Linked DNA regions of Homo sapiens: regions 2 and 3 are each linked to region 1. Evidence: promoter capture Hi-C in human tissues and cell types (Jung and others, 2019). All regions are on one chromosome and are shown on one strand. Each heading gives the region's core, a stretch centred on a gene start or on the middle of the fragment in contact. The rest is flanking DNA. Distances are from core to core; before and after follow the strand shown.

Region 1 (3,437 bases), core at 683-3,182:
GAGGAGCGCTCTTGCAGGCAGCGCATTTCAACCGGAAAAGCACGCGTGGAGGTTCCCGGAGCAGCTCCGGTACCAGGCAGCCCGGATTTGGAAACCTAGAGCTGGGGGTGGGGCAGGGCAGGGCCGGGCAGGGCAGCCGCGAGAGATTTACATATACACGCTGGAGACAGCCGGTCCGGATCTGCCACCAAGAAAGCTGTGTAATATTGGGCGAGTCCCTTCCTTGCTCTGGACCTCAGTTTCCCACCTACAGCGTGAGCGGAGGGTGGAGGCTGGGATAAGGGGTGTCAGGAGTCAAAGCTCTTCGAAGTCCTAGACAGCTCTGACTCTGACTTTACTCCTTGGCAGCCAGAAGGACTGACTGGGTCCGTCTTCCTGGGGCAAGGCTGGGCCGGGCGCTCTCGCTCAGAGGGGACGTTCTGGAAGCAGCGGCGAAAGAGGTGGGGTCAGGAGGCCGCCGGTCCCAGGAAAAGGGCGCGGGAGGAGGCAGAAGCGGGAAGCAGCACGCCAGCCCCGACCCAGGGTCCTAGGCCGAAGCTGAAGTAGAGACTCAACACCAGAGCGGCGGGTGCCTCGGTTTCCCCGTGCGCACCGTGGCTCTGGAACCTCGGGAAGAGGCCAAGGGGCACCTTACCTTGTCCTTCTTGCCGGCCCCGCTCTCCTCCGCGGCTGAGGCGGCGCACTTGTTGAGCAGTTTCTTGCCTCCGCAGGCCGTCGGGCTCCAGGTGCGGCCGCCCGCGCAGGCGCCCCCCAGGGGGTCCCCGGCCCCACCGCCCGCGGCGCTCTCCACTTTGATGAGGCGGTGCTTGGGGGAGATGTAGCGCACCTCGGCCGGCGTGGCGGGCCGCCGCTCGCTGCTGCTGCGGTAGAGATGCGGAGAGCCGGAGGACGAGGACGAGGACGCGGCGGCCCCCGCGCCCGAGGAGGCGCAGCAACAGCCCGCGGCGCCCGACGCGGACGAGGCCGAGAAGGCGCGCTGGACCCCGCCTGGCTCCCCGCTGCCGCCGCAGTAGTCCAGGCGGCACATGGCGCGCAGTTTGCGCAGCGACGAGCCAGGCCCGTTGTAGGGGTCCTCGAAGTCTCGCTCCTTCTGCGCGCGGTAGGCGCGGATGAGGTCGCTGGTGCTGCCGCTGTCGTCGGGCAGCGAGCCCGAAGAGGCTGAGAAGCAGGAGGCGGTGGCCGGACCGCAGGACGCCGAGGCGGCGGAGGAGGCCTGCGGCACGGCCTGGGGGGGCTGCGAAGGCCGCTCGCCTCGGCGCCGCTGCTCGCGGTAGTCTGGCCGCGGCGGCTGCGGGGGGCTCTTGGTCTTGCTGTTGCCCAAGCTGAAGTACTTGTTTAGCCACTTGGCCATGGCGAGAGGCCGCCTAGGGCCGCGGCGCGGGAGCCCGGTCCGCCGCCGCGGCCATTCGGGGGGCAGCGCTGCGGCGCAGGTCCCTCGGCGCCCCGGCCCCGGCGGGGGGCGTCCGGGGCGCCCGCTCCCGACGCCAAGTTCAAGTTCTTGCCGCCGCCGCCTCCTGCCGGCAGCTCTCTGGCTCCGGCGGCTGCAACACCTCCCTCCGCCTAGCGCCGCCCAAGCTAGGAATCTCGCGCCCCTCGTGGGCGCGTCTCATGGGGTCCCGGCCCACGCCCGGGGGAGAGCGGAAGGTCCGAGCGCTCCACGCCGCGGACCCTTTGGCCGTACGCCCCTCGCCGTGGATCGCGCTCCTGCCCCGTCGGAGCCGCAGCCTCCGCCTTGGCCGGGATCCGCGGCTGCCGCGGGAACTTCTCGGCGTCCTCGGCTCCCTTCTTCCTTCCTGCGAGCGCTGGGGAGAGCTCGGCCCCGCAGCGGAGGAGAATGCGGCCGGGAGAGACAGCGAGCGACGGAGGAAGGCAGCCGGCGCCCGCCGGAGCCCGCGCGCCCGTGCCCGTCCCGGCGGCGCCTGTCGCTGCCACTGCCGCCGCCTCCCGAGCCGCCGCGTGTGTGACACTCAGGCCGCCAGAGCCCGCCCCGCGCCGCCGCCCCGCCCCCCCGGAGCCCGCTCGCGCGCCCCGCCCCCCGCCCGCTCCCGCAGACCCAGCACCGCCCATCCCCGCGAGCCTGGCCCCGGGCCGCGGCCCAAGCCCCGCCCCCCTCGCGCCCGGGGCCGGGGTGGGCGCACCTCTCCGCTCCTGCACACGCCACCTCCCGCGGCTGCCCTGGCGCCAGCACCAGGGTCTTGCCCCAGGGCGCTGGGGTCCCGCCGCGCAGCCGGCTCCACCTAGCTTGCAGCTCGCCGCCGCCTCGGGCGAGAGGTTGCCTGGCGGAGCCTGCTACGCGCAGAGGCCAAACCTTTCCGCAGTCCCCCGGGACCCCGCGCGTTGTTCACTCCAGGGATCCCCCTGTCGGGGTTGAGGAGGGAGAGTGGATTAACACGGAACCTGTCTAGTTTACAGCGTGGCCCGTGTGGAGGAAATGCAGTGCCTAGTGCCCTTAGGGACAGAGTGGCTGTCCCTCTTCCTTAAAGGGACAGACTCCGGTTCAGCCCCGTGCGCCAGGTCTTCGGAGGAATCTTTATGCTAATGAGTGTATTAGCAGTCCAGATGACGGATGTGGTCGGGATAGGCGGTGGGAGCCGGGCCCAGCACCAATCCGAGAGCAAGGCTAGGGGAGGTCGGAATGTTTGCTTACCTTTTCACCTCTGAGGAAGTCGAGGCTTTAGCCCTGTTCGCTGCCAGCCGGCGGGGAGCAAGTTGTGGGAACATTTAATGCCTTATGTTGTAGGAGCTGGCAAGGATCCATTTAATACAGGACCTCGGCCGGGTGCGGTGTCTCACGCCTGTAATCCCAGCACTTTGGGAGGCCGAGGCGGGTGGATCACGAGGTCAGGAGTTTAATACCAGCCTGGCCAAGATGGTGAAACCCCGTCTCTACTAAAAATACAAAAATTAGCCGGGTGTGGTGGCGGGTACCTGTAATCCCAGCAGCTACTCGGAAGGCTGAGGCAGAGAATTGCTTGAACCTGGGAGGCAGAGGTTGCAGTGAGCCGAGATCACACCACTTCACTCCAGCCTGGGCGACAGAGGGAGATTCCGTCTCAAAAAATAAATACAGGACCTCATTTTACAGATGGAGAAACTGAGGCCCAGAGGAAAGTCACACAGGTGGACTTGGATGCCAGTTCCTAAGTCGGGTGGCACCATAATTATGTCTTTTCCAAGAGTCTCTTCTTTGCGATTTCAGATCATCCTTTGATTATTAACCAAAATTGAGGAAACAGTCCCAGGGAGTGGCCTGATTTGGTCAGTGTAACTTTTCCTGGGATCTGCACCCAGGGGAGGTGGCATGCTCCCTGTTGAGAGGGAAATGCTGCCTAAAGATGAAGTAGCTGCCACTAGGGCCTGGTGCTGCTTTGAATTTGCCTGGGCAACCCTCAAAATGTGACTTAACTCTAAGATGTGGGCACCTGAGAGCTGAGAAA
Region 2 (3,437 bases), core at 622-3,121, 250 kb after region 1:
TTCAATGTCCCTCTGCTTGTCACAGTGCCACTTATTATGCTCTGTCTAGACTGCCTAACAAGGCCGGGTGCAGTGGCTCACACCTGTAATCTCAGCACTCTGAGAGGCTGAGGCAGGCAGATCACTGGAGGTCAGGAGTTTGAGACCAGCCTTGCCAACCTGGTGAAACCCCATCTCTATGAAAAATACAAAAAATAGCTGGGCGTGGTGGCGCATGCCTGTAATGCCAGCTACTTGGGAGGCTGAGGCAGGAGAATCACTTGAACCCGGGAGGCAGAGGCTGCAGTGAGCCGAGATTGTGCCACTGCATGAGAGAGTGACAGTGTTGCAACAGTGAGAGAGACTCTGTTGCAAAAAAAAAAAATTTTAATAAAAATAAAAAACTGCCTCACAAAACTGAATGCCCAGGACGGGGAAGGTGTTGCTGAGCAGACGCCCTGTGGAAAGGCCAAGGGTGTTACTCAGCCATGGACACAGTGAAAGTGGGTGCCACCCACAACCATTCCCAAAGCTTGGCTCTATAAATCCTGGACCCCTGAGCCATCAATTTGAACACCCATGTATTTATGCCAAAGCATCCTTCCCTTTTCCAGCTGAGCTACAATACGAATTCAAGACTCCTGGCCATCTCCATATACCCTCTGCTTCAGAGACATTATTAAGCTACTTATAATTAGGAATAATAACGCCTGCAGATGCATTTTAATACAACCCACAAAAGGAGCTGTGTGGGTTTCTTCGTTCCCCAGCACGAAAGCAAACAACTCTTCCCCTGTTGTCTAGATCCAACTGCTTCACTTTCCAACAGCTGCTCTGACAGATGAGGGACAGGCAGAAGGTCAGAGTGAGCTGACCGACTTCCAGGCACAAAGGACAAAAGGATCTGAAATGTGGAGGGACTCATTGGAGGTCCCCGGCAGCTGGCTGAATTGTCTGGCTCTACACAGTGGGGAAACCGTGAGAAAGAGGGAGATGTCTCCTTTCAAACCTGGGCACTGGAACTTTCCTGGCTCTGACATCATCTTTTTTCTTCTTCTTTTTTAGTTTTATTTTACTTTAAGTTCTGGGATACATGTGCTGAATGTGCAGGTTTGTTACATAGGTATACATGTGCCATGGTGGTTTGCTGCACCCATCAAGCCATCATCTAGGTTTTAAGCCCCATATGCATTAGGTATTTGTCCTAATGCTCTCCCTCCCCTTGCTCTCTAACCCCCAACAGACCCCGATGTGTGATGTTCCCCTCCCGGTATCCATGTGTTCTCGTTGTTCAACTCCCACTTATGAGTGAGAACATGTGGTGTTTGGTTTTCTGTTCCTGTGTTAGTTTGCTGAGGATGATGGTTTCCAGCTTCATCCATGTCCCTGCAAAGGACCTGAACTCATTCTTTTTTATGGCTGCATAGTATTCCATGGTATATATGTGCCACATTTTCTTTATCCAGGATTATAAATCATTCTACTATAAAGACACATGCATACATATGTTTATTGCAGCACTTTTTGCTTTTTTACAATCAGCCTGCCAGAGGCTGGTCCACAGATTGTGGAAGCAGAAAGTGACCTTCCTCTCATCTGGTCCAACTCCCTCATTTTGGAAACTGAGGCTTGGAATGAGGAAGAGATTTGGCTTCAAATGTCAGTAGCCAAAGACTGGGCCCAAGGTAATTGAAATATAAATAATGCAATGATCATCTGCCCTCCCAGCATTCCCTCACGACAGCACCCAACTCTAGCTTTTGATGAAGGAGCCAAGACCCAGAGAGGTGGCATCATTTACCCCAATGGCATCGTATGACCAGCACAATGAAGGAAACCAAAGGGGTATTGTGACTTTTCCTCCCTCTTTCCCCTCCTTCTTTTGTTCTCTCCCTTCCCTTTCCTTCCCTTCCCATCTCTTCCTTCCTTCTCCATTTTCCTTCCCTCCCTCCAAACTTGTCTTTCTCTCTTCCTTTCTTTCTCTTCTCCTTCCTTCTTTCCTTTCTCCCTTTATTAAAAAAAAAAAAAGGTGTTCTTTTTCCATCCCACAGATTGGATGAAAAAAAAAGTTTAATGCATTTCAAAAATATTCATGCTCAAGGATCGTTCAAGACATCTGGACCTTTTAAAAAGTTGTTACAATTTTAATAAATAGGATGTATTTTAAAATATGTGAAAAAGACATTCCATTTAGTTAAGATCAGAAACTCGTTAAATTGCCTTTAAGATCATTTCTCTATTATATTTTTAACCAAGGTAAATTTCTAAGGGTTTTCGTTATATTATTTCCATATCGTTCTCCATAATCACATACATTTGATGCTTTCTAAAGCCTTCATAAATATCACTGAAAATATTTGTCCCTTTTTGTATTCTAAGTATAGCCCACATTCAGCAGACTTGTAGCAAACACACATTTAGGCAAGAGGATGAGGAGTGAGGAAACTAGATCCTGATGTCAGACAACTGAGCTGAAACTGGATTCCGGGACTGAGTGTGTGCCAGACCTCATCCAGGTGTGCAAATATGGAGGTATGCCTGGTCGCCACTCCAAGAGGCTTGCAAACTAAAGGCTCTAGGGACACGTGAATAAAAGGAGGAAGCAAGTATCCCAGGTGCTGTGAATCTCTCGAGAAGGGTAAGGGGCTGCTGAGGCAGGTCAGTTCCACTGGCGGCAGCCGGAGTGCAGCCAGAAGGAAACGCTCAGAGGTCCATGCAGGAGTTTTGCCAGAACCTTAAAACAAGTAGGCATCGGAAAAGGGCAGTGCAGGCAGCAGGAGCCACACAGTGGAAGGCTTAGTGGTATTGAAGAGCGTCCTGTGTCTAGGAGATAGCATGTGTCTCCCGTACAGGACTGGAGCCTAAGATACAGGCACAGGGAAAGGGATGAAGCATGGGGAGACTGAAACACTGATATTACGCACCTGAGCTGACACTCGATGCCAGCACTCAGATTCCCTGGCCATTCTGTTTTTTTAGCGAATCAAAATGTCCTGATCAATGTGCACCCTATTTCCCTGTGATCTGCACCCCCAGGGGCCTCCAAGGAGCAGATGGTGAGGATGGGTCAGTACTAAACCCCCGCCTGACCTGGCAGGTCCAGTGCCAACCACCAGGCTGCCAGTCAACGAGCAGGTCCCTACTCCTCTCTGGACTTCCGTGACCCCATCGGAATAGTGTAAGGCTCTTTTCAAAACCTGTCAGCTCTGACAGTCTCAGCTCCAGGATTCAAAAGTCAATGCAGGCCAGGCGCTGTGGCTCACACCTGTAATCCTAGCACTTTGGGAGGCTGAGGTGGGCAGATCACTTGAGAAAAGGAGGTTGAGACCAGCCTGGGCAACATGGCAAGACCTTGTCTCTATTAAATTAAAGATTAAAATAGAGTTTACAAATTAAAAAATGTCAACACAAAGTAAACTTTATACTTTGTGAGCTGAGCAGGTGGCCAGCTTGCCGCC
Region 3 (3,437 bases), core at 481-2,980, 140 kb after region 1:
TGAAAGAGCTTATATTTAATCTTTTGATGTTATCTCCTGTCTTTACCCATTTTTGTGTTGCTATAAAGGAATACCTGAGGCTTGGTAATTTATTTTAAAAAGAGGTTAATTTGGCTCATGGTTCTGCAGGATGTACAAGAAACATCGTGCTTCCTTCCCCCTCTCTGGTTTCCTCTCTAGCCAGGTGATATCTGCACACTCAGGCTCCCCTCTACCTTCTGCCATGAGAAAACCTGAAGCCCTCACCAGAAGCAGATGCTGCTGCCCTGTGTGGGCAGAGATCACATGGTGGGGCAGGAGGTACCAGTCTCTTTTTAACAACCAGTTCTCCAGGAAACTAATACAGCAAGAACTCACTCATTACCATGAGGATGGCACCAAGTCATTCATGAGGAATCTGCCCTCATAACTCAAACACCTCCCACTAGGCCCCACCTCCAACACTAGGGATCAAATTGCAACATGAGATTTTGAGGGGTCAAACAGATAGAACTATAGCACCTCCAAAGGAAGTTATATGTCCCATCAGAGAGGTACATTCACCAGATCAAAGTAGGAAATGTTCACCAAAGTAACATTTGCATCCCATTACTGAACCACACCATTTGTAGTACCTTATAAATTAATATGCTTTTAAAATACATACTGGAATTATCTTGTGATTAGCAATATCTCATTGCCTTCTTTTTTTATATTGAAAGTGCTCATTTGATAAATGTAAAGATTTAAAATACAGGCATGCACCACATAACAACATTTGGTCAATGAAGGACTGCATGCTTGATGGTGGTCTCGCAAGATTATAATACTGTATTTTTACTGTACCTTTTCTATGTTTAGATATGCAAATACTTACCACTCTGTTACAGTTGCCTGCAGTGTTCAGTACAGTCACATGCTGTACAGGTTTGTAGCCTAGGCGCAATAGGCTATACCATATAGCCTAGGCACATAGTTCTGCCATCTATGTTTATGTAAGTACACTCTATGATGTTCACACAACAACAAAATCACCTAAGGATGAATTTCTCAGAACATATCCCACACCGTTAAGCGATGCATGACTGACTGTATATCACAATTTTGGTAATTGTTTCTTCATATCTTCATTTATCAGTATGTTAGGCACCTTAAAAATTGGAAGTGGCCCAGGCTTCTCTCAGCCTCTGAGAGGCCCCACTCGTCTAGGACTATGTTTGCAAACCTACACAGTAGCTGTGTGACCTTGGGCAAGTTACTTAAACTGTCTCCCTAGCTTCAGTTTCCTCATGTACTCATTTACAAAATGGTGAAAATAACTCTATTTTGCAGGGTTTCAAAGATGAGTTAATGTGATGTAAGTGAAGTACCTAACAGTTTTAGATACACAAGTTTCTCAGTATACAGTAAGTAGATGCCCAGTAATTGGTAGCAGTTGTCATAATTTTTTCTGGTGTATTTCTAGCTGTTTTGATCCAGAAAACTTTTTTTTTTTTTTTTTTTTTTTTTTTGAGATGGAGTTCCGCTCTTGTTGCCGAGGCTGGAGTGCAATGGCATGATCTTGGCTCACCGCAACCTCTGCCTCCCGGGTTCAAGCGATTCTCCTGCCTCAGCCTCCTGAGTAGCTGGGATTACAGGCATGCACCACCATGCCTGGCTAATTTTGTATTTTTAGTAGAGATGGGGTTTCTCCATGTTGGTCAGGCTGGTCTAGAACTCCCGACCTCAGGTGATCTGCCTGCTTTGGACTTCCAAAGTGCTGGGATTACAGGCATGAGCCACCATGCCTGGCTAATTTTGTATTTTTAGTAGAGATGGGGTTTCTCCATGTTGGTCAGGCTGGTCTAGAACTCCCGACCTCAGGTGATCTGCCTGCTTTGGACTTCCAAAGTGCTGGGATTACAGGCATGAGCCACTGCACCTGGCCTTTTTATTTTATTATTATTTTTTTGAGACAAGATCTGACTGTCACCTAGGCTGGAGTGCAGTGGTGCAATCTCTGCTTACTGCAACCTCTGCCTCCCGGGCACAACCCATCCTCCCACTTCAGCCTCCCAAGTAGCTGGGACCACAGGTATGCATCACCAAGCCTGGCTAATTTTTGTATTTGTGTGTATGTGTGTAGGGATGAGGTTTGGCCATGTTGCCCAGGCCAGTCTTGAACTCCTGAGTTCAAGTGATCTGCCTGCCTCAGCCTCCCAAAGTGCTGGAATTATAGGTGTGAGCCAATGCACCTGGCCTGATCCAGAATACTCCGATATCAGTTACCTTTTGCTGTGTAACAAATCACTCTAAAACTTAGTAGCTTAAAATAACAACCATGTATTTACTTCAAGATTCTGTAGGTTGGCTGTTTAGGCTGGGCTCAGCTGGCAGGTTTTCTGAACTCAGCTAGAATTCCTCTTGCTTTTGTAGCTAGATGTGGGGCAGCTGCAGTTTGGTTTTGCTAGTTTGGGCTGAGCTCTTGTGTATGTTTAAGGTCTTGGCTGGGACAACTGGCCTGACTCATGAACTCTCATCCGCTGGCAGCTTAGCCTGGGTTTGTTCACATCATGAAGACAAGGGTCCCAAGAAAGCAGGTGGCGGTGTGCAAGGCCTCTTGAGGCTTGGGCTTGGAACTAGTACAGTGTCACCTCTGCCACATTCTATTGGCCAAAACTAGTCACAGACTCAAGACTTGAGGACACCACTTTTGATAGGAAGAGTTACAAAGTCACATCTGCAAAGTAGCAGAGACACAGAAAGGGAAGTAACTGTGGTCATTTCTGCAAACAATCTACCACAATTCCCCCTTTGTAAACAAAAAACAGCGCCTTTAATTTATTCCCTGGGTGCCCCAGTGAGCAAGTGGGGATAAATTGTGTTCTTTTCCACTCTCTGGTTCAAGCCTATTTTTAGATCTGGTCTAATAAAATGAATTTCACACCTGGGTTACTCACCCACTAACAAACACTTTGTTCTTATTGATGCCTAGGACAAATGCCGAGGCAGCCTAGATTTGTAGTTCCTTTACCTCTGAGTACAATAATTGTTAATTATTTGCTTTATTTGGTTCTGTTGCATTTGCCAATAGTCAATTACCTATGTTAGGTTTTCTTGTGATCAGTGGGGCTTATCCAATATTGCAGCTCAGGTCCGTTTTTGTCTCAGAGATGTCTATTCCAAGATAAAGAAAACTCTTGTTCACTAGTTTATTGAATATCTGTTTATTTCAAAGCCTTCTTATGCACTGGTGCAAGCACCAAAGTGCTCAGGCTGAGTTCTTAGAATTGAACAAAAGGCCAAAGATAAGCTTTCCTTTTGTGTAATCTGGCTAAATCCCAGTACATAGAATAGATAGAAAGAGCAGGTTGTGAGATCCTAGGGCATTTGTTCAGTTCCTGCCTGAATCTCTGAAACTGCCTTATCCCCTGTAATCCACCCTCCACATAGCTACCTAGTGACCTAATGCAGAGACC

The links. The method cuts DNA at HindIII sites, captures the fragments that hold promoters and counts their contacts. A contact is called where the count stands out against the background at its distance.
Region 2: a contact is called between a fragment that was not itself captured here and the fragment with the promoter of SHB in region 1, in 1 of the 25 tissues and cell types used here (lymphoblastoid cells).
Region 3: a contact is called between a fragment that was not itself captured here and the fragment with the promoter of SHB in region 1, in 2 of the 25 tissues and cell types used here (bladder and lymphoblastoid cells).

Annotation. Positions count from the first base shown.
Region 1 is chr9:38,067,295-38,070,731 of GRCh38, forward strand. It overlaps SHB (SH2 domain containing adaptor protein B), which reads right to left and starts at 1,933. Exons shown (of 6, transcript NM_003028.3): 1 at 635-1,933. The coding sequence starts at 1,351. RefSeq lists an enhancer at 370-1,173 and silencers at 1,064-1,113, 1,534-2,343. The HindIII fragment of the contact is 6,868 bases long and covers 1-3,437 here.
Region 2 is chr9:38,312,778-38,316,214 of GRCh38, forward strand. It overlaps LOC107987065 (a long non-coding RNA gene), which reads left to right and starts at 3,346. Exons shown (of 3, transcript XR_001746670.2): 1 at 3,346-3,437. The HindIII fragment of the contact is 4,682 bases long and covers 1-3,437 here.
Region 3 is chr9:38,205,094-38,208,530 of GRCh38, forward strand. The region is part of intron 1 of LOC107987064 (a long non-coding RNA gene); the gene reads right to left. Among named protein-coding and RNA genes, the nearest start is that of SHB, 140 kb to the left of the region's middle. The HindIII fragment of the contact is 5,159 bases long and covers 1-3,437 here.